Regions from separate parts of the Homo sapiens genome. Here regions 1, 2, 3, 5 and 6 are each linked to region 4. Evidence: promoter capture Hi-C in 16 types of primary human blood cells and fetal thymus (Javierre and others, 2016). All regions are on one chromosome and are shown on one strand. The core of a region is centred on a gene start or on the middle of the fragment in contact, and the rest is flanking DNA. Distances in the headings are between cores, read along the strand shown. Region 1 overlaps NRBP1 (nuclear receptor binding protein 1). Region 2 overlaps PPM1G (protein phosphatase, Mg2+/Mn2+ dependent 1G). Region 3 overlaps IFT172 (intraflagellar transport 172). Region 4 holds the start of CCDC121 (coiled-coil domain containing 121). Region 5 holds the start of GCKR (glucokinase regulator). Region 6 overlaps IFT172 (intraflagellar transport 172).

What was found. Contacts are between HindIII fragments. The CHiCAGO score rates a contact against its expected background, and 5 or more counts as called.
Region 1: a contact is called between a fragment that was not itself captured here and the fragment with the promoter of CCDC121 in region 4, in 2 of 17 cell types (endothelial precursors and megakaryocytes). The highest score is 5.4, in endothelial precursors.
Region 2: a contact is called between a fragment that was not itself captured here and the fragment with the promoter of CCDC121 in region 4, in 3 of 17 cell types (megakaryocytes, endothelial precursors and erythroblasts). The highest score is 10.9, in megakaryocytes.
Region 3: a fragment that was not itself captured here is called in contact with the fragment with the promoter of CCDC121 in region 4 in 1 of 17 cell types (endothelial precursors); the score reaches 9.2 in endothelial precursors.
Region 5: a contact is called between the fragment with the promoter of GCKR here and the fragment with the promoter of CCDC121 in region 4, in 2 of 17 cell types (endothelial precursors and megakaryocytes). The highest score is 14.4, in endothelial precursors.
Region 6: a fragment that was not itself captured here is called in contact with the fragment with the promoter of CCDC121 in region 4 in 1 of 17 cell types (endothelial precursors); the score reaches 10.0 in endothelial precursors.

What each region holds. Positions count from the first base shown.
Region 1 is chr2:27,432,922-27,437,213 of GRCh38, reverse strand. It overlaps NRBP1 (nuclear receptor binding protein 1), which reads right to left. Exons shown (of 18, transcript NM_013392.4): 2 at 3,731-3,960; 3 at 3,419-3,541; 4 at 3,124-3,225; 5 at 2,654-2,743; 6 at 2,452-2,492; 7 at 1,987-2,081; 8 at 378-461; 9 at 109-167. The coding sequence starts at 3,940. Among named protein-coding and RNA genes, the nearest start is that of NRBP1, 6.4 kb to the right of the region's middle. The HindIII fragment of the contact is 6,412 bases long and covers 1-4,292 here.
Region 2 is chr2:27,398,484-27,402,959 of GRCh38, reverse strand. All of the region lies in intron 1 of PPM1G (protein phosphatase, Mg2+/Mn2+ dependent 1G), which reads left to right. Among named protein-coding and RNA genes, the nearest start is that of PPM1G, 8.9 kb to the left of the region's middle. The HindIII fragment of the contact is 2,848 bases long and covers 1,669-4,476 here.
Region 3 is chr2:27,450,173-27,453,051 of GRCh38, reverse strand. All of the region lies in intron 35 of IFT172 (intraflagellar transport 172), which reads left to right. Among named protein-coding and RNA genes, the nearest start is that of KRTCAP3, 9.2 kb to the right of the region's middle. The HindIII fragment of the contact is 1,047 bases long and covers 735-1,781 here.
Region 4 is chr2:27,626,118-27,630,583 of GRCh38, reverse strand. CCDC121 (coiled-coil domain containing 121) reads left to right here and starts at 1,572. Exons shown (of 2, transcript NM_024584.5): 1 at 1,572-1,634; 2 at 2,667-4,466. The coding sequence starts at 2,785. The coding sequence ends at 3,621. GPN1 (GPN-loop GTPase 1) reads right to left here and starts at 1,534. Exons shown (of 14, transcript NM_007266.4): 1 at 1,415-1,534; 2 at 632-725. The coding sequence starts at 1,525. RefSeq lists enhancers at 1,290-1,389, 1,430-1,739, 1,800-1,859 and a silencer at 2,308-2,602. The HindIII fragment of the contact is 4,758 bases long and covers 918-4,466 here.
Region 5 is chr2:27,494,252-27,498,105 of GRCh38, reverse strand. It overlaps GCKR (glucokinase regulator), which reads right to left and starts at 1,267. Exons shown (of 19, transcript NM_001486.4): 1 at 1,142-1,267; 2 at 707-862; 3 at 476-544. The coding sequence starts at 1,201. FNDC4 (fibronectin type III domain containing 4) reads left to right here and starts at 2,906. Exons shown (of 7, transcript NM_022823.3): 1 at 2,906-3,228; 2 at 3,403-3,559; 3 at 3,640-3,755. The coding sequence starts at 3,427. The HindIII fragment of the contact is 4,981 bases long and covers 1-1,715 here.
Region 6 is chr2:27,468,663-27,473,008 of GRCh38, reverse strand. IFT172 (intraflagellar transport 172) reads left to right here. Exons shown (of 48, transcript NM_015662.3): 15 at 647-759; 16 at 1,914-2,081. Among named protein-coding and RNA genes, the nearest start is that of IFT172, 19 kb to the left of the region's middle. The HindIII fragment of the contact is 427 bases long and covers 1,788-2,214 here.

The DNA of each region.
Region 1 (4,292 bases), core at 1,364-3,863, 190 kb after region 4:
TGCTCCCACAATCACTCCCTCCAAGCCAGCGCCTTACTTGTCTTCCCTCCATTCCCAATTCCATCTTCTCATCTGACCCCTTTCCCCCCTCCCCTCCAGTCCCCTCACCTCCAGTGCACACATGCCAAAGGAGTAGATGTCCACTGCTGTTGTCACATTAGTGACTTCTAGGGAAAACAGAGAAGGCTTTGGTTAATCAGAGGATTGGGGGCTAGGGTTGGCAGGAATGCCTTAGGAAAAAAAAAAAAGAAAAGAAAAATATTTTGTATGCTGGTAGAGAAGGCCTAGAAGTTTCAGTTATATTGCCTCTGTACCTCAAGTTATAAGGTGCAAAAGCAGGGGGATGAGGACAGGGCAGAGAAAGCAGGAAGGCTCACCTCCATACTCTGGTGCAAAGAAGTGTAGATTCTTCTGCTCTTCTCGACAAGTCTTCACATGATTGTTGATAGTGTCAGGAGCCACTGGGAGTAGGGGAGACACCCACAATCTGACCATCATCAATGAAGAATAGTCTCACTCCAGAGAGAGGCCCCAAAAGCCAAATTCTCTCCTGAAGTCTCCTTTCTGATGACCCTCAACAGGCACAAACATATTCCCTTTCCTGTCCTGAACTACAGACCACACATGGATGCCACCTACCTCCCCTTTCTTAGGCCTACTGCTTCTCATCTAATGTCCCTAAATCAGGAGCAACAAAAGCACCAGACTAAATTAACAGATACACAGGGGCTTCAGGCTGGTCTAGAAGCAATGAAGTTTAAGGAAAAATTTTCACTTGTACTGCGTTCACCTTCCCTAAATCCCAGGTACCTCTAATCCCTGCTCACATGAAAATATTTGGTTTTAGTTTTTTCATCCACCCTGCAAATAACATAAAAACACAGGCAGCCCTTCCTAATCTGGGACAATTGGAGACCTCAGGAACTTGGATAAATAAGGATAAGAAGTATTAACATACAGCTCAGGAGGTAGCCTCCTTCTTACCCACCTTTGCTGAGTGAAACTCAAAACAGCTCAGAATTGAGCTAATACCCTTGAATCTGTTCCACTTTTAATCCACCAAAACATTTTAGACTCCTGTTCTACCCCCTTATTCCTCAACACTGTCTGCCACAGAGCTGAACGAGGAACCAGGACCAGGCCCAATTTGGACTCACTCAGATCATAAACAATGACTACAAGTCACAGAGAATCTGGGAGCACAGTATGATCTGGGAACTAGCCTGATGATGAGGGAGAACATGAATCCAGGAGGTAAGTGGCCAGCCAGGCAGAATCCACAGGAAACAAGCAGGTTATGAAGGGGCAAGCAGGCGGAGGGCTGGCAGGGCAGAAGCTAAGCAGGCATAATTAGGCAGGGAAGATAGGGGAAGAGGGTTTGCTCCCACGACTGCATGCACTGGGCAGCCGCCAAGGGAGCAGAGGGAGCACAAACAGAGCCCCAAGTGGGGCAGAGGGAGCTCTCACCATTAGCAAAAATCCTATGAAAGACTGTTGGGAACAGAGCAGCCCGTAAGCGGGAGGGAGGAAAACAGAGAAAAGTTGTGAGCGATGGAGCAGCCAAGCCCCAGACAAATGGACACACAAATACCACACAGACACAGCACACAGAAATGTTGTACACTGCATACAATACACAGCAAACGAAAGCACTCACAGCAGGAACAGCCTGGAACCTCCTCTGGCAGGGTCTGGCCCCAGGACTCAAATCAAACCTCAAACCTATCTCTTGCCCTTTCCCAGCCTCTTATCAGTATCTCTGTATTAACCCCAATTTTCCCTTCAAAAAGGTGTAAGATTATATATCCTACCCCCTCTCCACTAATTAACTGGCCTCTCCTATTAATTACTCCTAGCAAGGTCCTTTCTCTTCTCACCAGCCCACACCTCAGAATTTTGCTCTGTTATCCCCCATTCCTTTCATCTTACCCCCATGGTTCCCAAATTCCCGAGGCTCCCCTGCCCAGAACCTCTCCCTCCCCTCACCAGAGCCAATCTTGATGAGTCCGTTGTGCTGGATGAAGATGGTGTCACAGGTCAGGTTCCCATGGATGATGGGGGGGTCACAGGAGTGCAGGTAGCTGTGGGGGCACTGGGCTGTTAGAGGGGCCACTGGGAAATTAAGGGCAGGGGGAACCCAAGGGTTAAGAGGAGCAAGGGCCAGGTCTCCTGCTGGTCACCATAAAGATAATCCCCACACTCTGAATCTCCATTATGCCTGATGATTTAAATAGCTGGATAAGCACTAGGAGAAAGAGGTAGGAGATAAGTGTCGTGGTTAGGGCATTAGGACGCACCCTTTAAAAGACCCGTAGGGGCCCTAATCTTGACAGTATATGATTCAAAGAAAGTGGGGAGAGGCAGAATAGAACAGAAGAGTAGTGCCCTGAAATCTGTTTGGAGTAACTACATCAGGAAATATGGGTAAGAAACTAACCAGGTACTACTTACCTTAGGGCAGAGAGGATTTGTGTGCACCAACGCTTCCATGCCTGGAACAAAGTTGGATCCAAGGGTCAGCAGTAATTCCCTCTCTTAACTCTCTCCCACTAGCTCCTTCCGTCCCTTCCTGATCAGCTTCATTATTAACAGAGTCCTTTTTAAAACCACCCCCAAAAACCAGCCTCAAACTTTGTCTGCTCTCCTTCTATACCTTTTCATTCATCGTCTTGTGGTTCTTTTTGGTCTTCTTCAGAAATTGCTTCAGACTCCCAGATGACATGTATTCTGTGATAAAAATGACCTGGGGAGGCAAAGCACTTACTAAAAGGCCTTATAGTAGAAATGATCCCTTCCCTTGTTAACATATTTTAAATTTGAAGGTTTGTTAAAATTTCTCTCCTTTTGTTCTTAGCTTTACTTACTTAGACTAAATAGGGCAATGAAAACAAGCAATGAAAGTTATGGGAAGAAAGAAGCAAAAGTTCACTCATTTTCTGCCCAATCTATAGCCACACAAAAGGCATAGGTGACAACTGAAGCCCTACTCTTATCGCCATTGCAGCTGATTCCAGTTCTGTTTCAAAACTACCTTGTTTTAATCTCTGAGTGTAAAAGGAACAATAATAAATGTAGCTAGTCTCTTTGCAATAAGTTCAGGAAATATGGGGAAAAAATTCTTACCCTGGCCTTGTTCTCTTTAATGTCAGCCCAATATTTGTGAAACTTAACAATGTTAAGATGCTCCAATTGAATCAGATTATCAAACACAGCACGAACCTTTTCCTGAAAGCAAGGGAGACAGTGGAATAACAGAGTCACAAATCACTGTAATAATCCTGAGAAGCCATTCCCTATCCCTCCCCAGAAACGATCTAACCCCAACATACTCTCCTCACGGGCAGCTTCCCAACACCAATTCCTCTCTAACATCAGTGTTCCAACATTCCCCAGGCTTCACCTTTTCAGCATCACCTACCTCCTGCAGCTTGTAGTTCTTGCGTTCAGAGAACTGTACCTCATTCCACACAACCTCTACACCTTCCTCTGTATCCATGGCCAGGTATGCACTGTCAATACCTGGTACATTCCGTTGATTCACCTGAGAAGAAATTCATATGAAAGAGAATTAAACTTATCTCACAAATCCTCCATTTTAACACTCCATATGATCATCTCCTCCTAGCCCCCAACCTATTGAAGTTTGGTTGGCCTCTTTTAAGACTTTGCTCTTCCAGTTCTCACCTTTCCAGAATTCACTCACCCAAGAGTAACTGTACCATAACCTTACCTCTTCTCGCCTCTTCTGCCAGCGCCCACAGGGCGACTCTTCCAAAATCTCAGACTCATCTTCACTTTCTTCTTCTTCCTCTGGGGAAGCAGCTGAGGTTGTGGAGGTCACAGGAGGTGACACTGATGTCAGGCCAGGAGCTGAAGATGAGGATTCTACCTTTGGGTCTGAGCCACTGCTAAGTACTGTCTGGGACTCCCCCTCCGACATGCTGGAAGGAACACTCAGGCCTGCACTGGTTGGGGCAAATACAGAGGGAAAAGGCAGAGAAAGTCAGGATACATCTGTAAAGATTTAGTAATCCAGGCTGGACGTGGTGGCTCATGCCTGTAATCCCAGCACTTTGGGAGGCTGAGGTGGGCAGATCACCTGAGGTCAGGAGTTCAAGACCAGCCTGATCAACATGGTGAAACCCCATCTCTACTAAAAATACAAAATTAGCTGGGTGTGGTGACGCGTGCCTGTAGTCCTAGCTACTCAGGAGACTAAGGCAGGAGAATTTTTTTGAACCAGGGAGGTGGAGGTTGCAGTGAGCTGAGATCACGCCACTGCACTCCAGCCT
Region 2 (4,476 bases), core at 1,843-4,342, 230 kb after region 4:
GCACATGCCACCATGACTGGCTAATTTTTTTTTTTTAAGTTTTTTTTTGTAGAGATAGGGCCTTGCAGTGTTGCCCAGGCTGAGGAATTTTATTTATGTTTATTTTATTTATTTATTTATTTATTTATTTATTTATTTATTTATTTATTTATTGAGATGGAGTCTTACACTGTCACCCAGGCTGGAGTGCAGTTGCGCGGTCTCAGCTACTGCAAGCTCCGCCTCCCGGGTTCATGCCATTCTCCTGCCTCAGCCTCCCGCGTAGCTGGACTACAGGCGCCCGCCACCACGCCTGGCTAATTTTTTGTGTGTGTTTTTAGTAGAGGCGGGGTTTCACCATGTTAGCCAGGATGGTCTCGATTCCTGACCTCGTGATCCACCCACATCGGCCTCCCAAAGTGCTGGGATTACAGGTGTGAGCCACCATGCCTGGTCTAGAAATTATTTTATATTTTATACCATTGCCTTATAAGTTCTCAAGCAACTGGAAAATACAATCAGAACGTATTCCTCAAGATTTCAAGGATATTTTACACAAAGTTCTATTGTCTGATTCCTTAGCAGTTGTTACTACTGTTTCCCTAACCTCTAATCTTCTATTGGGTTATTAGTCTTAGAATTGAATTTTGAGAGGTAAGGGCTTGAATTTGAACATAGAAATTTATACAGGTCTGATCAGTAGTTCTTGACATTGTATTATCTGGAAACAAATCTTTAGAACTGAGCTTAAGATGTTTAATGACATTTTGTAGACAGAGTATGATTTCAGTGTAGTTGTTTTTGTTTCTTTCTAGATCTAGTTCAGAGATGAAGTATATCAACTTTTTTTTCCTTTTTGACCCAATGCTAGCAGAAAAACAACACCTTTTAATCATATTTAGTATTTGAAAATGTGTATACAGGTTCCTTTTTATTTTATTTATTTCTTACAGGTTCCTTTTTAATCAGCTTTATTGAGATAGAGTTCATATACTGTATGGTTCATACCACATATGGTTCATATACCATACAGTATATGAACTCACTTTAAGAGTATAATTCAGTGGGTTTAAGGGTATAATTCATTCATTTTAAGGGTATAATTCAGTGGCTTTTAGTATATTTTCTTTTTTTTCTTCTTTTTTTCTTTTTTCGAGACAGGGTCTTGCTCTGTTACCCAGGCTGGAGTGCAGTGACGCAGCCTCAGCTCACTGCAACCTCCACCTCCCAGGTTCAAGCGAATTCTCTTGCCTCAGCATCCTGAGTAGCTGGAACTACAGGCTCACGCCACCACACCCAGCTAATTTTTATATTTTCAGTAGAAACAGGGTTTCACCATGTTGCCCAGGCTGGTCTCGAACTCCTGGCCTCAAGTGATCTGCCTGCCTCAGCCTCCCAAAGTGCTGGGATTACAGGCATGAGCCACCGTGCCTGCCTGTTTTGTAGTGTATTCAAACAGAGTTGTACAACTGTCACCACAATCAGTTTTAGAACCCCAAAAAGAAACCCTGTACTCTTTACCAGTCACTCCCTATCTTCCGTCCACTAACCCCTGGCATCCACTAATTTACATGACCTCTATGAATTTGCCTATTCTGAACATTTTATAAATGGAATTCTAAATACACTACCTTTTATATCTGGATGCTTTTACTAAGCATGTGTATTTTTGAAATTGACTTTAAAGCTTGTTGGCCCCTGGAAGAGTAAATTACTCTCCACCCCAAGTATTCCCTCTACCCCTCAGCTTTGCCTGTAAGTTTCTTTTTAAAAAAATCACACATACATTGTTGTAGTAGATTTAAGAATAAGTATTTTGCTGACCCAAGGTTCTTTTGCTTCTTTCTAGATCAGTGCCTTGCAGGTTTTATTTTACAGAGCTTAATAGAATCAGAAATCTCTTTAAAACTCCAGTCTCATATCCAGTTATCACTCACCATCTCTGTGTTTGCAGCAATAGCCAGGCCTGGCCCAGAGGGACTTGATCTCCACTTTTGGTTTTTAGACTTTTCTGTGGCTTTTACCACCTGCTGTGTATCCTTGACCTCATACTGCTGGACTCCTTTGGATGGATACCAGCAGGATGGTTCAGGCTCCAGTGGGCACTTTTTAAAATTCTCTCCTTCTGTTCAGATAGACAGAGCTCAGGCAGATCACCAAGTCTGTTGCCTGTGTAACCAGGAAAGAGATGCTAGTTTTCTTTTAGGCACTCCCATTTGTTTCTGTTGGAACCTTCCTCACTTAGTTGATGGAAGGGAAGCAAAAGACCCAGAACTCCATCTCAAATTAATGACTTAACAATTCTTGAATTTTCTCTTATCTCCTAGTTAACTCTTTTTCTTATCTCCAGGAGGTCAGTTTTAATTATTGTTGTTTATTCATTTATTTTCATGGAGACAGGGTCTTACTGTGTTGTCCAGGCTGGCCTTGAACCCCTGGCCTCAAGGAATCTTTTCACCTCAGCCTCCCAAAGTGCTGGAATTACAGGCATGAGTCACCACACCCAGCCTGATATTTTTCAGTTGATGTATCATAGTTGTGCCTAAGCATAATTTTTTAATTTTAATTTTTTATTTTTGGGGACAGGGTCTCCCTCTGTCGCCCAGGCTGGAGTGCAGTGATGCGATCTCAGCTCACTGCAACCTCCACCTTCTGGGTTAAAGCGATTCTCCTGCCTCAGCCTCCCGAGTAGCTGGGACTACAGGTACCCACCATCACACCCGGCTAAATTTTTTGTGTGTATTTTAGTAGAGACGAGATTTCGCTGTGTTGCCCAGGGCGGTCTCGAACTCCTGAGCTCAGGCAATCCGCCTGCCTCGGCCTCCCAAAGTGCTGGGATTACAGGCATGAACCACCACGCCCGGCCAAGCGTAATATTTTTAAGGGTCATCAATGTTGTGTCATGAATCAATCAGTGTTTCGTTCTTTTTTATGGTTGAATAATATTCCATGGTATGGATTTGTCACATTTTGTTTATCCATTCATTAGTTGATAGACATTTTGGATTTCCACTTTTTTTTTTTTTTTTTGCTATTATAAATAGTGATACTATGTACAAATTTTTGTGTGGAAATATGTCCTCATATCTCTTGGTTATATACCAAAGAGTGGAAGTGCTGGGTCATATGGTAACTACGTGTTTAACATTTTGAGAAACTGCTAAACTGTTTTCCAAAGTTGCTGTACCGTCGTACATTCCTGCCAGCAATATATGAGGATGCCAGTTCCTTCACATGTTCACTACACTTATCCACCTTTTTTATAATAACTAATGGTGGGTGTGAGATGGTATCTCATTGTAGTTTTGATTTGTATTTCTCTGATGGCTAAATGGCTAATGATGTTTGAACTTTTTGTTTGAGACAGAATCTCACTCTGTCCAGATTCAAGCGATTCTCCTGCCTCAGCCTCCCTAGCAGCTGGGATTACAGGCACATGCCACCACACCCAGCTAATTTTTTGTATTTCTAGTAGAGACAGGGCATTACCATGTTGTTCAGGCTGGTGTCGAACTCCTGACCTCAAAGGATCCGCCTCCCTGGGCCTCCCAAAGTGCTGGATTACAGGCTAGAGCCACCATGCCAGGCCTTATGTTTGAACATCTTTTATGTGCTTATTGGACATTTGTGTATCTTCTTTGGAGAAATGTCTGTTCAAAGTCTTTGTCCATTTTTAATTGGATTGTCTTTTTGTCTTTTGATGTGTAAGAGTTCTTTATGTGTTTTGGATACAAGTTTGTTAGATATATGATTTGCAAATCTTTTCTCCAATTTTTGTGGACTTTTGCTTTCTTTTTTTGTTTTGTTTTTGTTGTTGTTGTTGTTGTTGTTGTTTTGGTCGGGGGACAGTCTTGCTCTGACCACCCAGGCTGGAATGGAGTGGCGCGATCTTGGTTCACTGCAACCTCTGCCTCCTGAGTTCAAGCTATCCTGCTTCAGCCTCCCGAGTAGCTGGGACCCAGGTGTGTGCCACCACTCCCAGCTAATTTTTTATTTTTAGTAGAGACCGGGTTTCACCATGTTGGCCAGGCTGGTCTTGAACTACTGACCTCAGGTGATCTGCCTGCCTCAGCCTCCCAAAGTGCTGGGATTACAGTCATGAGCCACTACACCCTGATTCTTTTTGCTGGCTTTCTTTCTTTTTTTTTCTTTTTTTTTTTGAGACGGAGTCTCGCTCTGTTGCCAGGCTGGAGTGCAGTGGCATGATCTCGGCTCACTGCAACCTCTGCCTCCCGGGTTCAAGCCATTCTCCTGCCTCAGCCTCCCGAGTAGCTAGGACTATAGGCACATGCCACCATGCGCAGCTAATTTTTGTATTTTTAGTAGAGACGGGGTTTCACCATGTTGGCCAGGATAGTCTCGATCTCTTGACCTCGTGATCCGTCCGCCTGGGCCTCCCAAAGTGCTAGGATTACAGACGTGAGCCACCACACTCAGCCTCTTTTTGCTTTCTTGATGGTGTCTTTTGAAACAAAAGTTTTTACTTTTGATAAAGTC
Region 3 (2,879 bases), core at 9-2,508, 180 kb after region 4:
TCTGTGAAGAAGGAGGGAAGACTTGGACAGGAGCTGGAAGGGCAACTCCAGGCACAGGAACTGGCCAGACAGGGAACATGAAAAAAGCATGGGCTCCACCTCCCCCACCCAACATTTCCTGAAAAGAAGCTTCCAGCAAATTAAGCCAGGCCAGTATGTGTCACAAATAATAAGACATACTGTATTGGAGAAACCAACAGGATATATACAGTCATATGCCATATAACAACGTTTTGGTCAACAGTAGACCACATGGGTGGGCATGGTGGCTCACGCCTATAATTCTAGCACTTTGGGAAGCTGAGGTGGGTGGATCCCTTGAGGTGATCCCACGCCTGGCCTTAAATAGGTTTCAATACACAAATGCTTACCATTGTGTTATGGTTGCCTATAGGTAGTCAGTACAGAAATGTGCTGTACAGGTTTGTGGCCTAGGAGCAATAAGCTCTACGCAACCTCTACCTAGGTGTATAGTAGACTATACCATCTAGGTTTGTGCTATGATGCTTACATAATGATGAAATCCCCTAAGGACACATTTCTCAGAACATACTGATCATTAGACAATGCATGACTGTAGGTATATGTGTGTACATGTATATAAAGAGATTTATTAAAAGGAATTGGCTCATGCAGTTATGGAGATAGACAAGGCCCAAGATCTGCAGGTGAGCTGGCAAACTGAAAACCCAGGAGAACTGATGGTGTAGTTCTTGTTTGAAGGCCAGCAAGCTTGAGACCCAAGAAGAGCTGATGTTTCAGTTCAAATCTGAAGGCAGGAAAAAGCCAGTGTCCCAGTTTAAAGGCAGTCAAACAGGAAGAATTCTCTCTAACTTGGGAAGGAGCCAGCCTTTATGTTCTGTTCATGCCTTGAAATGATTGGATGAGGTCTATCCACAGTAGAGAGGGCAATTTGCTTTACTCAGTCTACCAATTTAAATGTTAACCTCATCCAAAAACACTTATAGAAACACCCAGAATAATGTTTGACCAAATACCCGGATACCCTGTAGCCCAAATTGATACATAAAGTTAACAATAACATATATATATATATATATACACACACACATACATATATATAATTATATTTTAATATATTTAAAATTGGGATGCAGGTATAGTTTAAATGACGCACCTTAGATACAGTGAAATGTGAGTGGGGGTCATGAGGGGGGTGAGATTGGCCCTCTAAATGACATATTCGTATGGTGATGCCCCTGCAAAATTTCCCTTAGGTTTTGAGGTTTTTTTGTTTGTTTGTTTATTTTGTTTGTTTGTTTTTTGAGACGGAGTCTTGCTCTGTCGCCCAGGCTGGAGTGCAGTGGTGCAATCTCGGCTCACTGCAAGCTCCGCCTCCTGGGTTTAGGCCATTCTCCTGCCACAGCCTCCTGAGTAGCTGGGACTACAGGTGCCCACCATCATGCCGGGCTAATTTTTTTGTATTTTTTTAGTAGAGACGGGGTTTCACCGTGTTAGCCAGGATGGTCTCCATCTCCTGACCTCATGATCCACAAGCCTTGGCCTCCCAAAGTGCTGGGATTACAGGCGTGAGCCACCGTGCCTGGCCTTTTGAGGTCTTAAAACTCAATAACCCCTAGAAGTTAGAGGGAGAGAAGTAGAAAGAGAGGGGCTGATGATTGGTTTTGAGGTTCTAGCAGATTTTAATCAGCAGTATTGAATAAGCATCTGATATATGTAACTTGGGAGCATGGCATGACTGTACCTTTTTCAGATTAGTCAGAAAATGGCTTCCTGATGCAGACAGGGCAGATTAAGCTTTGAAGGGCTTGGCAGTAAGAAAGGGAGGCAAGAACAGGTGAGGGAAAGACCAGAGGGGATTAGCATAAACTACAGTGAAATTGGATTGTGTGGAAATTGAAATCTGGTAAGGATGTCAGCATCATAATGGAAACAGAGTGATCTCATTGAACACTTGGGTTTGTAGAATTTCTGAGTTTTAAGTGTTGAAAGGTTATCATCAAGACCATCTATACCAGCACTGGCACTAGAAATATAATGCAGGCCACAAATGTAAGCCATACATGTCATTTAAATTTTCTAGTAGCCACATTTAAAAAGAGTAAAAAAAAAAAAAAACAGGTAAAAATAATTGTAATATATTTTATTTAACACAGTATATCTAAAATACACCATTTCATCTGGGCGCAGTGGTACATGCCTGTAATCCCAGAACTTTGGGAGGCCACGGTGGGCAGATCACTTGAGGATCAGGAGTTTGAGACCAGCCTGGCCAACATGGTGAAACCCCATCTCTACTAAAAATACAAAAATTAGCTGGGCATGGTGGTGGGTGCCTGTAATCCCAGCTACTCAGGAGGCCAAGACAAGAGAATTGCTTGAACCTGGGAGGGAGAGGTTGCAGTGAGCTGATATTGTGCCACTGCACTCCAGCCTGGGCGACATAGCAAGACTCTGTCTTAAAAAAATTAAATAAAATACTACCATTTCAACATGTACTCACACACATTATTTAGATATTTTCCATTCTTTTTTTATACTAAATCTTCAAAATCCAGTGTGTGTGAATGAAGAAACAAGTTCATAAAAGCCCAACACAAATAGTTACAGAATGCCCTGGACTCCTTATTTTAGGAGTCCTTTCTCTGTACTCTGCTACGAAGATTTTACTTATGACAAAGACCTTGAAAATGATTTTGTCAAAGGCGGAAGTTTCAAATGCAGTGACCTCAGGCAGCGCAGGAAGTATCTGAAAGAGTTAATGAACTGAGAGGAAAGATAGGTCCACTGATGGCTAATCAAAGGATCTAATGGACCATGAGCCAGGTTTTGCCCAGGAGGGTGCAAGGTTGAAGGGGAGAGTAAGAGAAAAAGTTGGCATCTGGAGGAGAAAAATG
Region 4 (4,466 bases), core at 323-2,822:
AGACCAGCCTGGGCAACATAGAGAGGCCTTGTCTCTCCAAACAAAACAAAACTAGCCCAGCATAGCGGCAGGAGGCTGAGGTGGGAGGATCACTTGAGCCTGGGATGTTGAGGCTGCAGTGACCTGTGAATCACGCCACTGCACTCTGGCCTGGGTGACAGAGACTCTGTCTAAAAAAAAAAAAAAAAAAAAAAAAACCTAAGCTGTTTAGGAATGCAAGCAAATCCAAAGGAAATGAAAGTAGATAGTTTAGAAAACATGAAAAAAGAAGGCACTGAAGACTGGCAGGCTGGAGGCTTTACAGAGTCTCACTCTATTGACCAGGCTGGAGTGCAGTGGCACGATCTTGGCTCACTGCAACCTCTGCCACCCGGGTTCAAGCAACTCTCCTGCCTCAGCCTCCCGAGTAGCTGGAATTACAGGTGCCTGCCACCGTGCCTGGCTAATTTTTTGTATTTTTAGTAGAGATGGAGTTTCACCATCTTGGCCAGGCTGGTCTTGAACTCCTGACCTCGTGATCTACCTGCCTCGGCCTCCCAAAGTGCTGAGATTACAGCCGTGAGCCACCACGCCTGGCCTTTTCCATTCTCTTTAAAGCACTGCACACAAGTTATGTTACTGGTTTACTCACCAATATTGGCAGGAAAGGGAACTTCATGTACTGCTGGATCCAGGTTGATCACATACGGTGGAGTGCCTTGGGCATGCAGGTGTCCTGTGAGCCTCTGCAGAGATATGGGGAGAGGGTTGGAAGGAGACAAAGAGGGGACAAGAGAGAACTTCCATTCCTTTAACACCCATGCCTTAAGAATATTGCACTTAGATTTTCTTCTACCTGAAATATCCACCATGTCCACCTCCAAGATACAACTCTCAGTTCAAATGCTACCTTTCTTCATCACCCATCTAACAAAGCTTCCCCTACTCGTAGTCACTTGTTTACTTGTTTTGATTCTTCGTATGTGGGTTTTCTCTATCTCCTCCATTAAATATTTGGCCCCACGAATGAATCTTGTCAACCTCATTTTCGCTATATCCCCAGTGAATGGAACATGACAGGCGTGCAAGAAATATTTGGCAAATCTTCACCAAAACCTGTGTGCTAGCACTGTATTAATCTTTAAAGTTACTTGTAACTTGCCTCCGAGAAACGCAATTTTATCAGCAAGACAATTCCTGTACAACGTGGTAAGCTGGACCGAGTATGCCCTGAAGGTGCGCAGAAGAGAGCCTTAATTAACCTGGCTAGGGCCCGAGGAGGCTTTGCCGGGGAAGGAACTAAAGTTGATGGGAAGCCCCCGAAAGCCATGCGCCGGTACCCTCCAAATCCTCTTCCCTCCCTTTCTTCCTGGCCTTCCGCCTGCCGGAGGCAACCTTTTGCGCTCCCCTACTACACCCATGCTGTGTACGTCACCTGTACAAAAGTGGTTTTCCCGGATCCCGCCATTCCCAACACCAACAGACACACTGGGTGCCGCGGACCCCCAGAAGCCTGGAGCTCAGCGGCAGCTGCGGACGCCGCCATCTTCCTCCTGGCCCCACCCACCCGACCATAGAGACACCGCATGGGTAGAGAAACTTCCGCAATGTTCTGGGCTGCGAACGAAAACCACCACAGCGTCAGAAAGGAGCGGGTGAGGGGCGCGGCGGTTGCCAGGGCATCTTCTTAGCGTCGGGCAGGGCTGATGAGTCAACTAGTGACAGTGGCGAGGAAGTGGGGGCGCTGAGCAAGCGAGAGGAAGGCTGAAGGGAGCTAGGAAAAGGGCGCTGATCTCTGCAGCCTGGGAGGGCTTTTGTCTCCCGGAGGAAGGCCAGAAGAGATGGGGTCCCGAGGGCAGGGCTCACACAGCAAGAAAACGAGGAGCATGCCTGTCATTTTGAGCCCACAGAGAACGGGGAGCGGAGCCACTGGAGGACCGGCTGCTCGGGCTTATTCGGTAGCCGAGGCGGTTAAACAGTTCAGGGCTGGACCAGCCGGGACTGGAGCAGGGTGCAGTCTCCAGGGTTGCTGGGCAGCACCGAGACCCTTTGAGCACCGAACGAATAAACTACGGGAGCTTTCCACACTTGCACATTGTTCCCGCGAGTTGCAGACGCAGGTTCCTGATGCTAGCGCTCATTCCTTGGCAGTCACCCTCAGTGAACTACACAGTTGCCGTGACCTTCAGGATGAATGCTTGGATTCCAGGTGCAAGTAGGTACTGGAGGGGAGCTTCCTCCCCTCCAGTCACTGAAGGTCCCTCAGAAACTCAGGAAAGATGATGAAAGAGCCTAGAAAATTATTTCTACTCCTGACCACCCAGTCTGTTTCTGTGACCCTTTGTAGCTGCAAACAGTGTTCAGTAAGTCATAAGATCTGGCTTTAATACCCAGGCTCTGCCACTTGCTAGTGGTGTGAGTCATGGGCAAGTCACTTAAACTCTCTGAACCTGTTTTCTCCTTTTTTAAAACTGAGGTAATACCTCCCAGGGTTGTAGTGAATGCACGTTGTAAATGACGAGCTACATTCCTCATCCTTTACCACTAGCTGGATTCCCCACACCTTGCATAATGTCTGGAACATTCTGGTGCTCAGAAATATTCTCTTGTATGAATGAAGGACAGTTGTGCACTTACTTCCTAAAGTTTCATTAACTGACAGAGGAATGTCTCGTTTGTTCTTTCAGGTTTGCTGAGGGCCCCAGAAGGCTCCTTCCACCGTATCATAGTCTAATAAATAATTTTGTCAAGCCAGAGAAGCTAACAAAGGTAGAGACAAGGCTTAAAGAAAAGATAGTGGCGGAAATGACGGATCTGAACAAGCATATAAAACAAGCTCAAACCCAGCGGAAACAGCTACTGGAGGAATCCAGGGAGCTACACCGAGAAAAGTTACTTGTCCAGGCTGAAAACAGATTCTTTCTGGAATACCTGACTAACAAAACTGAAGAGTACACAGAGCAACCTGAGAAGGTATGGAACAGCTATTTACAAAAAAGTGGAGAGATTGAACGAAGAAGACAAGAATCAGCCTCCAGATATGCAGAACAAATTTCAGTGCTTAAAACAGCGCTCTTGCAAAAGGAAAATATCCAATCCAGTTTGAAGCGGAAGTTGCAGGCAATGAGGGACATTGCTATATTAAAGGAAAAGCAGGAGAAAGAAATACAGACATTACAGGAGGAGACAAAGAAAGTCCAAGCTGAGACAGCTTCAAAGACACGGGAAGTACAGGCCCAGCTCCTCCAGGAGAAAAGATTACTGGAGAAACAACTGAGCGAGCCAGACAGGAGGCTACTGGGAAAGAGAAAAAGAAGAGAGCTTAATATGAAGGCCCAGGCCTTGAAGTTGGCAGCAAAGCGGTTTATTTTTGAATACTCCTGTGGCATCAACAGAGAGAACCAGCAGTTCAAGAAGGAATTACTGCAGCTAATTGAGCAAGCCCAGAAACTAACGGCTACTCAAAGCCACTTAGAAAACAGGAAGCAGCAGCTGCAGCAGGAACAGTGGTATCTGGAGTCCTTAATCCAGGCGAGGCAGAGACTGCAAGGAAGTCATAATCAGTGCCTAAATAGACAGGATGTTCCAAAGACCACACCCAGTCTTCCCCAAGGCACCAAATCAAGGATTAATCCAAAGTAACTTCTAAAATAACACTGATTAAATAAGAACTGGAGCAAGTACTCTTAAGTGCTACATTAACCTGGTTAGAAAGGCTGTTGGATTCCAGATTGCTATTGTAAAATCTCCATCATGATGTGTTGGAGTGAAGGATTAGATGGTTTTATCCAACAGTCCTACTAGATATTTGGTAACCAGCTTCCCTTAACTAGCTTTTTCTTTAAATACTCGTTAATAAGCTATTCCACAAACCTCCAGTTAACCTAACACATGACCCTAACCTAGCCATTTACCATACATCAAACTAGCTAAAGGAAACCAACCTAAGGAAGTGAAAACAGTTGTGATTTATTTCATCTAGCTAAATTGTATTTCTTTATAGAGAAAGTACCTTTAAGGATAGCATTCCAAATAGACTTTGAATAGCGTTCTGCCAGTTTATCCTCATTCCTTTTGACCAACTTAGCAGACAAAAGCAGTTTTTACAAGCTCTTTGTGAGTTTGTGCCAGTGACCAGGTAGCTCCTTCTAGTTTTCTCATGAGTGAAAAAGCATTCTGATAACAGCAAGTCCAGTAAGTGCTAGGCAGAGTGACCTTTCATCTGATGCTAAGCCCCTACAAGTTTGAGAAGGTAAGAAAAGATGAAGGAGACATATATTAGGTCAGCTCTTACTTTTGAAAATGTTTTATTTGAAGAAACACCTGTAGCATTGAGGTGACTGAATGCCTCCACTTATTTCAGGAAAACGTATCCAAAAAAAGTTGAAATATTTGGACAACTTTTTTTTTAAGTGCCATCGATTTCCCTAGCAGCATTCTAAAAGATAGCAAGTAAAATGATGTTTGTTATCCTAAATGCTTTAGTT
Region 5 (3,854 bases), core at 18-2,517, 130 kb after region 4:
AGCAAAAAGAACATTGGATTAGAGAAACCAGTTTGACTCCCATGTCTTGCTCCACTACTTGTTCAAATCCTTACTTCTCCCAGAAAGAACTGAAAGCAGCTTTGTCATCTAAATAAAAGTAAATAATAAAAGCAGCATTATCCAGCAATTATTAGCTCAGTGTATTTGAGCAAGCTACAGTGATTATCCTTTCTAAATCTTTGTTTTTTCATCTGAGGAAAACAAACAGAAGTCATATCAACTTCACAGGCTTTTGTGAGGGTAATAGGTGTGAAAGTAGATTGTCAATTATAAAGTATTAAGCAGAGAAGTTATCATTATTATTTATTAATAAGATGAAAATAAGGATCCAAAAGGGAGGATCTCCAAAAGGGAGAAAGGAGAATGAGATCTATCAAAGTGAGAAATAGAGACAGTAAAAAGAGAAAGAGGGAAACAGAAAAGTTTAGGCAGGGAACAGAAGGAAGGTTAGTACCTTCAGCACTTCCTGAACTTTCCCAGCCACCTGTACCATGGTGGTCAGAATGGATTCGCTGTAGAGTCTCTGTAGGGAATATGCAGGAATGAGAAGCCAAGAAAAGGAGGACGATGAATGGGGGAGGGGGTCTCAGGGTTTCCGATATTAGGAGCCATGGTGAGGGAGAGCAGAGGTGGGGTTGGGGTTGGCATGTTTATTTCCAGGGTCCAGGTCTTGGGTCTTGGTTACCTGGTATGTGGACAGGGCTTGCCCCTCCTCCTGGAAGATCTCAGCATCACATTGCCCTAGCAGTCGAACAATGTTCTCAGCATCTGCTTTGTCTAGATCCTGGGTCAGTGGGTTTGACTTCTCCGTGATTGGCACAGCTGCCTCGTACCCAGACAACTAGAAGGAAGAGGGGACAAGGATGGAGCAGGAAGCCAAAGCCTCATTCATGCCTGCTGAGCTGGAGGTGGGAGTGGCAGCAGGCACAGAGTTTGGACTTACACACACGCACACACATACCACACCAGAAACTCAGCCTGCACTTGGTGCTCTGGGCATATTAGGGAAAGAACATCAGGAAGGAAGAAGAGGTGAGCAGAAACCAGCGGGGAGGGAAGACTGGATGAAAAATAATTCTAGGAATCAGCACAGAAAGCCAACATGAAGAAGGGGTCTCACCTCCCACTTGCCAGGCTCCGGGGTCTCAATGACATGTTGAAACCGTTTTGTGCCTGGCATGGTCCCACGCTGTGGATACACTGTTCCTCCTGCCTCTTCAGCCACACAAACCCCTCTGGTCACAATGACTCTGCTTCCAGTTGGCAGGGCCTTATCTGAGCCCCAGTGATGATTAACCCAAGCACCCTGGGCTCTCAGAGCACCACCCTTTCCTGGTCACTAGGCCCCCAGCCCTCTGGTAACCCCAGGGAAACTCCTGGGCTTCCTCTTTGCAAGCACCCTGACTCGCCAGCCTCTGCTTTGGCCCCTGAAGAGGAAGACCTGAGGCTCGGGACTCTTGCCCTACCGGGACAATGCCCTCTTCTACAGAGGACCTGGAGCCTGGGAGTGCAGGACAACACCCACGGCAGTGAGAATCCCTGGGCAAGTGTCCTCCGAGGCCAGAGATCAGGGTCACCAAGTCAGCACAAGTCAGAGGACCTGGCCCATGGCTTGATCACATGCTCAGCACACACAGTCAGTCCCACTGGTCCCATTTTATCCTCTCCTCTCAGAAAGGAAGGCAGTAGAAGCTTCTGAGCCCCAAGTGTGCACACACTGTACTGGATATTACAGCGGGAAAAATCCCACAGAAACAGAAATACTGCATTGAGAATTAGAAACCAAAGAATCTGCCCTAAATACAATGTTAGCCAACATTTATTTACACTGAACAACACACTTTTCACAGACAGTATCTCATTGGATACACCAACACTAAGATGTTGGTCAATATTGACACCCTCATTTTTCAGATGATGAAACAGGCTCAGAGTAGTTTAGTTGGTTGCTTAAGATCACACAGCTGGACAAATTGGGACTCACACCCAGGTTCTCAATTCAGATTTCAAGCTCAACCAAAGCATGATATAATGTAAGGGCTTACATGTTATTGAACAAAGAAGTAACTAACAGATTGGTGCAAATTAATCTCCATCATCCAGTCACATAGTGTTGTGAGATTTATAAAGATCTTTCCCGTCTCATTTGAGCCTCACAACAACCCTGTGAGATTTCACACGCTTTGCTTTACAGGTGGGAAACCTGAAGCACAGATAAACCAGTTTCTCCAAAACCACACCGTAAGTGGTAGAGCTTTAGAAAAACAAAAAAAGAAAAGAAAGGAATAATAATTTTTTTAAAAAAGCCATAGGTCTTTGCGCTTTGATTCTCCCGAGAAGCCCAACACTCTTAACAATCACTGTATCTCCAGGTTTTAATATAATGCCAGACACATAGGAGATGCTCAATAAATATTTGGTGAATAAATGAAAGAATGAATGAGAAAGCGAACGGAATTAAATGAGATTATGAATGGAAAAGAGACTTAAAAGCTGACGCAGTCTACAAGTAAGGGATTGTTAAAGCAATTATTATCTCCCTCACTCTCTCCCCTCTCCTGTTAGCCCCTCGGGCACTGGAGGTGGAATTCCTCTTCCCAACTTGGCTCTTCCACGCGGGGAGGAAGGGGATCTCCCAGGTGCCGGAGACCCTAGCACCCGCGTCTCACCCCCCACGCCCCCGCCGACTCGTCCGCTTCAGCTGGGAGAGAGAAGGGATAAGGGATGGGGGCTCCGGAGGCGCCATTGGGAGGGTCGTGGGAGGAGCCCCGAGAGGACGGGAGTGAGGGGGCGGGAGGGGAATGACGGCGGCGAGAACCCCGGCTGGGCGGGGCGGGCCCGCGCGTCCCGGCCGGGCTGCGGCGGAGCGAGCGGGGCCAGCGCTGCAGAAGGCGGCGGCTGGCTCTCCGGGACGGTCACATCCCGCTGCAGGGGCGGGCGGAGGCCGCCGCACTGCCTCCCGCACCGGGGACCCAGGCCAGCGTCCGGGCAACGCCCCCTGCTCCCGGACAGACTCCGTGGCCCGCTCGAGCCCTGGGGGCTCCGCAGACCCGCGCCCGCTCCGCCCGCAGCTCGGCCCCGCGCTGCCCGCGTCGCCGGGCCCGCGCCGGGATGGGGTAGGGGCAGCGCCACCGAGTCGGGCGATGGGCCGCCCTCTGGGCACCGAGCAGCCCCCCGAGGCCTGACCAACCGCGAGGACCGGCGGAGGTGGGTGTGGGCAGGGCGGACCGCACTCTGGGGCCGCCCGGGCAATGCGGGGGCGGGAGGGCGTAGAGAAAATAGGGCTGTTGTGAGCTGTGGGGAGCCCAGGAGAGCTGCTGCCCCCCGACCTCCGTGCGTTCTGGGCAGTCCTTGACCCCCCACAACTCCTGCCATCTCCAGGAGCCCCGCCTGGATGTCAAGCGGATGCCAAGCGGATGCCACAGTTCCCCCCCCAGCGGACTCCGTGGGGACATGGCTTCGCTGGTGCCCCTTTCCCCATATCTAAGCCCCACGGTCCTCCTGCTGGTCAGCTGTGACCTGGGCTTCGTGCGAGCAGGTAAGTAAAGGGGAACGGGGCTGAGGGTCAACCACAGCTAGTCAATGGGTGAAACCTGTTAAACACCCTGGCTCCCGCAGACCGGCCTCCCTCTCCTGTGAATGTGACGGTCACTCACCTCAGAGCCAACTCGGCCACTGTGTCCTGGGACGTCCCAGAAGGCAACATCGTCATTGGCTACTCCATTTCCCAGCAAGTATGAATCACCCTTCTGCTCCCCCAACCTGTGTCCTTGGATTTCGGCACATTTCTTCACTTAAGTGGGGGGGATCTGGAAGCTGGCGTATCCTGGCTC
Region 6 (4,346 bases), core at 752-3,251, 160 kb after region 4:
CTTTAGCTTAAGCATATATAACAAAGTGGGGCCCATTGTTCATTAATAATGGATATCACTAAAACTTATAAATAGGCTTTGATCAAGAGACCCCCTGAAACCATCCCAGCCAACCCTAATTGGTCTGCTCTAAATGTGATAGTTTCTGATAATGTCTAGAAGATTCAAACCAAACTAAAATATTCATCCTCTGCAGTGACCAGCCTAACTTTAGTCAGAGGTTTGTCTGTTGCCTTCCCCACCATCCACCCTTGCAGTGCTCTTACACAGTAGGCATTCAAATATACGGGTGACTTCTTAGAGCATATGACCATCAAGGTCATTGATTCATCAGCCTTGTCTCACTGCTGTATTGTATCAGGCTTATCTTTAATGTGCTCAGTGCTGCCTTCGAGGGGATTCTGTGAGTAGGAGAAGCCACTTGCTCAATAGTTCTAGTCTGCTCTGAGGTAACTCCATAAGCCCCAGAGAGTGATGACATTTCTGTGGGTCTGGACCTTTTGAGTTAACAACATAGTTAAACAAAACCTCTACAATTCTAAAAGAGACCTAGCTTCCTAGGCATCCTAGCAAAATTATGTGTGTTGGCCATACTATGTATATGTGTGGAATCTCTCTTCTTAACCCTGTCTCCTTTATTCTATAGTGGATCTGATTGGTGGCTACAACATTGGCACCGTCAGCCATGAGAGCCGTGTGGATTGGCTGGAACTTAATGAGACTGGACACAAGCTCCTCTTCAGGGACCGGAAACTTCGTGTGAGAAGAGCTACTAAGGCCTTAGGCATTGGCTGGCCCACAGAGGGTGTGAGACAAGCTGCCACCAGGGACTGAGGGAGGCAGGATGGAGCACATTGTCTTTGCTGTGTCATCAACATGGCAGAAGGCACAGAAGAATCAACATTCTCTGTAGCTGATACCAAAACTGATAGCAAAACCCATCCTTTATTACCTCTTTTTTTTTTTTTTTGGAGACAGTGTCTCACTCTGTCACCCAGGCTGGAGTGCAGTGGTACAATCTGGGCTCACTGCAACTTCTGCCTCCCGGGTTCAAGTGATTCTCCTGCCTCAGCCTCCCCAGTAGCTGGGACTACAGGCACGTGCCACCACACCTAGATAATTTTTGTATTTTTAGTAGAGATGGGTTTTCACCATGTTGGCCAGGCTGGTCTCGAACTCCTGACCTCCTGGCCTCAGGTGATCTGCCTGCCTCTGCCTCTCAAAGTGCTGGGATTACAGGTGTTGAGCCATGCGCCCAGCAATCCTGTATGACCTCAGAGGTGATTGTATTATGGCAACAAAGTCAAGAAGGGAGTTTGGAAGTTGGTGTCTCTTACTATTCACAGTCTGTGCCCTCAGGAAACTTCCTTAACCCTGCATTCCTCCTCCTCATGCCTAGCTGACCTTCACCTAGACCTGCTGTCCAGTGCTTTTCAGCCACACTTATCTGATAGCATGAACTGGCTGGAGGACAGCCTCTTCGTCCCTCATTGATTCTCATCCCAATATGGTAGCACCAGAGTCTTCAACCTCAGATCAAAGAGACAACCTGATGACTTTTCATTTCAGTGAAAGCCACATCACAAATTTCTGGATAATTTAATTTTTCTAGTGGCCTGCCATTTGTAATCCAAGCTGGTAACTCTGGCCCAGAGTTATTTCAAGAAGGAAAGTCTGACCTTCACCTAACTTAAAATTCCTGGGATGTAGATCTTTGTTCTATGGGTCATCTCTTACTTGACCAGAGTTAGGATATACCAGCTCAGCAGAAAGCAGGTCAGTAAGCTTTGAAATGCAGCATGAACCTGAGTGGTGGGTTAGCTCACCACATCTCACCATTAGGAAAATGGTCAAAAGCAGGAGACAACCCCACATCCCCTTGTAATTGTGTTACCTGCCTTTTCTTTCTTCAGTTGCATCTGTATGATATTGAAAGCTGCTCTAAGACAATGATCCTCAACTTCTGCTCCTATATGCAGTGGGTCCCAGGAAGTGACGTGCTGGTAGCTCAGAACCGAAACAGTCTGTGTGTATGGTACAACATTGAGGCACCTGAGAGAGTCACCATGTTCACTATTAGGGTATGTTGGACACTAGGGGCCCTCAGATGTGGTATTGAGCTGATTAATTAGAGCCATGAGGAGACTCTGAAGGCTACTTGGTTTTCTGTGTCCACCACCCTTAATCTCTGTGATAGAATTGGCAAATAAAGCTTAGACTTATGGACCAGCCCCCAGAACCATCCTTTTTCAGATTCCTGACATTATATTAGACCCTTGGAGTATGGGTTCATTACAGTGGCCCCGGGAAGTCACCAGGTCATAATATGGAGATCCCTGTAGGCTGGAAGATCCCTGATAGGAGAGGCAGTTCTAATGTCATCTCCTTCTATGCTGATTCTCCGTTATAAGCCATTCAAAGTGCCTTTTTTTCTCAAATTACAGATCAGCTCTTCTCTCCTGTCCTACCACAACATCATACATACCCAGTAGTCTTCCAAAATCTGGGAGGAGCCAGAGAAAACGAGAGGCAGGCTCCTGTGCTAGGCTAGGAGTGTGTGTGTATGGGTAGAGCGCTTGATGCTTTCTTTTTGTCCTTTTCCATACCTTTTTAAAATCTCCTTTTTACCTCATTTTAAACTGATTAGGGTCTAAAATTTATTTGTTTAGTTCTTTCTTTCTTTTTCTTTCTCTTTCTCTCCTTCTCTCTTTTACTCTTTCTTCCTCTCTTTTTTTTTTCTCTCTCTCTTTCTCTCTCTTCTTTCTGAGACAGGGTCTCCCACTATCTCCCAGGCTGGAGTGCAGTGATACAGTCATAGCTCATTGCAGCTCAGCCTCCTGGGCTCAGCCAATCCTCCTGCCTCAGCCCCCTGTACAGCTAGGACTACAGGTGCATGCCACCATGTCCAGCTAATTTTGTGTTTAATTTCTTTAAGCACCTTTTTTTTTTCTCCACATTTTGGGTTTGAAAGTTATATGTCCTGTTTCTGTAGAGGTTACCTTGAAAGTTTAACATGTAGTTAAATGAACAAAGTCTAAAGTTAATCAGCATCTAACCACTCCCCTGCAAACAATACAAGACTTTAACTTTCATCTCCTCCCCTTTGTCATTGTTGTCCAGTATTTTAGTTCTAATCTTATTTTGTCTCCAAAGTTAGGCATGATTATTTTATTTTATTTGAGACAGAGTCTCTCTGTCACCCAGGCTGGAGTGCAGTGGCGTCATCTCGGCTCACTGCAACCTCTGTCTCCTGGATTCAAGAGAGTCTCCTGCCTCAGCATCCCAAGTAGCTGGGATTACAGGTACCTGTCACCATGCCCAGCTAATTTTTGTATTTTTAGTAGAGATGAGGTTTCGCCATGTTGGCCAGACTGATCTCGAATTCCTGACCTTAGGTGATCCACCCGCCTTGGCCTCCCAAAGTGCTGGGATTACAGGCATGAGCCACCACGCCCTGCCTGATTATTTTATAAGACAGGATTCATTTAGATTTACCATCAAGGTACCAGTTCCTTTGTTTACCTTTTCTTGCAATGCTAATCTTCCCTCTGGAATGACTTTTCTTCTTCCTGAAGAATATTATTTAGAAGTTTTTTGTTTCTGTTTTTTGTTTTTTGAGACAGGGTCTCACTCTGTTGCCCAGGCTGGCGTACAGTGGCACAATCTTGGCTCATTGCAACCTCCACCTCCCAGGTTCAAGTGATTCTCCCACCTCAGCGTCCTGAGAAGCTGGGATTACAGGCATGTGCCACCATGCCTGGCTAATTTTTGTATTTTTAGTAGAGACGGGTTTCACCATGTTGGCCAGGCTAGTCTCGAACTCTTGACCTCAAGTGATCCGCCTCCGTCAGGCTCCCAAAGTGCTGGGATTACAGACATGAGCCACTGCGCCCAGCCTTATTTAGAAATTTCTTTAGTGAAAGATGATAAATTTTCAGTTTTTCATTATCTGAACATGTTTTTATCTAGCCTTTGTTCTGAAAAGATGCTTGGACTCAGTACCCAGTTCTAGATTGACAGTTAATTTTTCTTAATTTGTAAATGTTGTTTCATTGATTGACTTCCATTGTTGTTCGGAAAAATTTATCATCAGCCATTTCTGTACAGGTGATCTGTCTTTTCTCTTTGGTTTCTCTTTTTTTTTTTCTTTTTTTTTTTTTGAGACGGAGTGTCGCTCTGTTGCCCAGGCTGGAGTGCAGTGGCGTGATCTCAGCTCACTGCAACCTCTGCCTCCTGGGTTCATGCCATTCTCCTGCCTCAGCCTCCCAAGTAGCTAGGACTACAGGCGCCTGCCACCATGCCCGGCTAATTTTTTGTATTTTTAATAGAGATGGGGTTTCACCGTG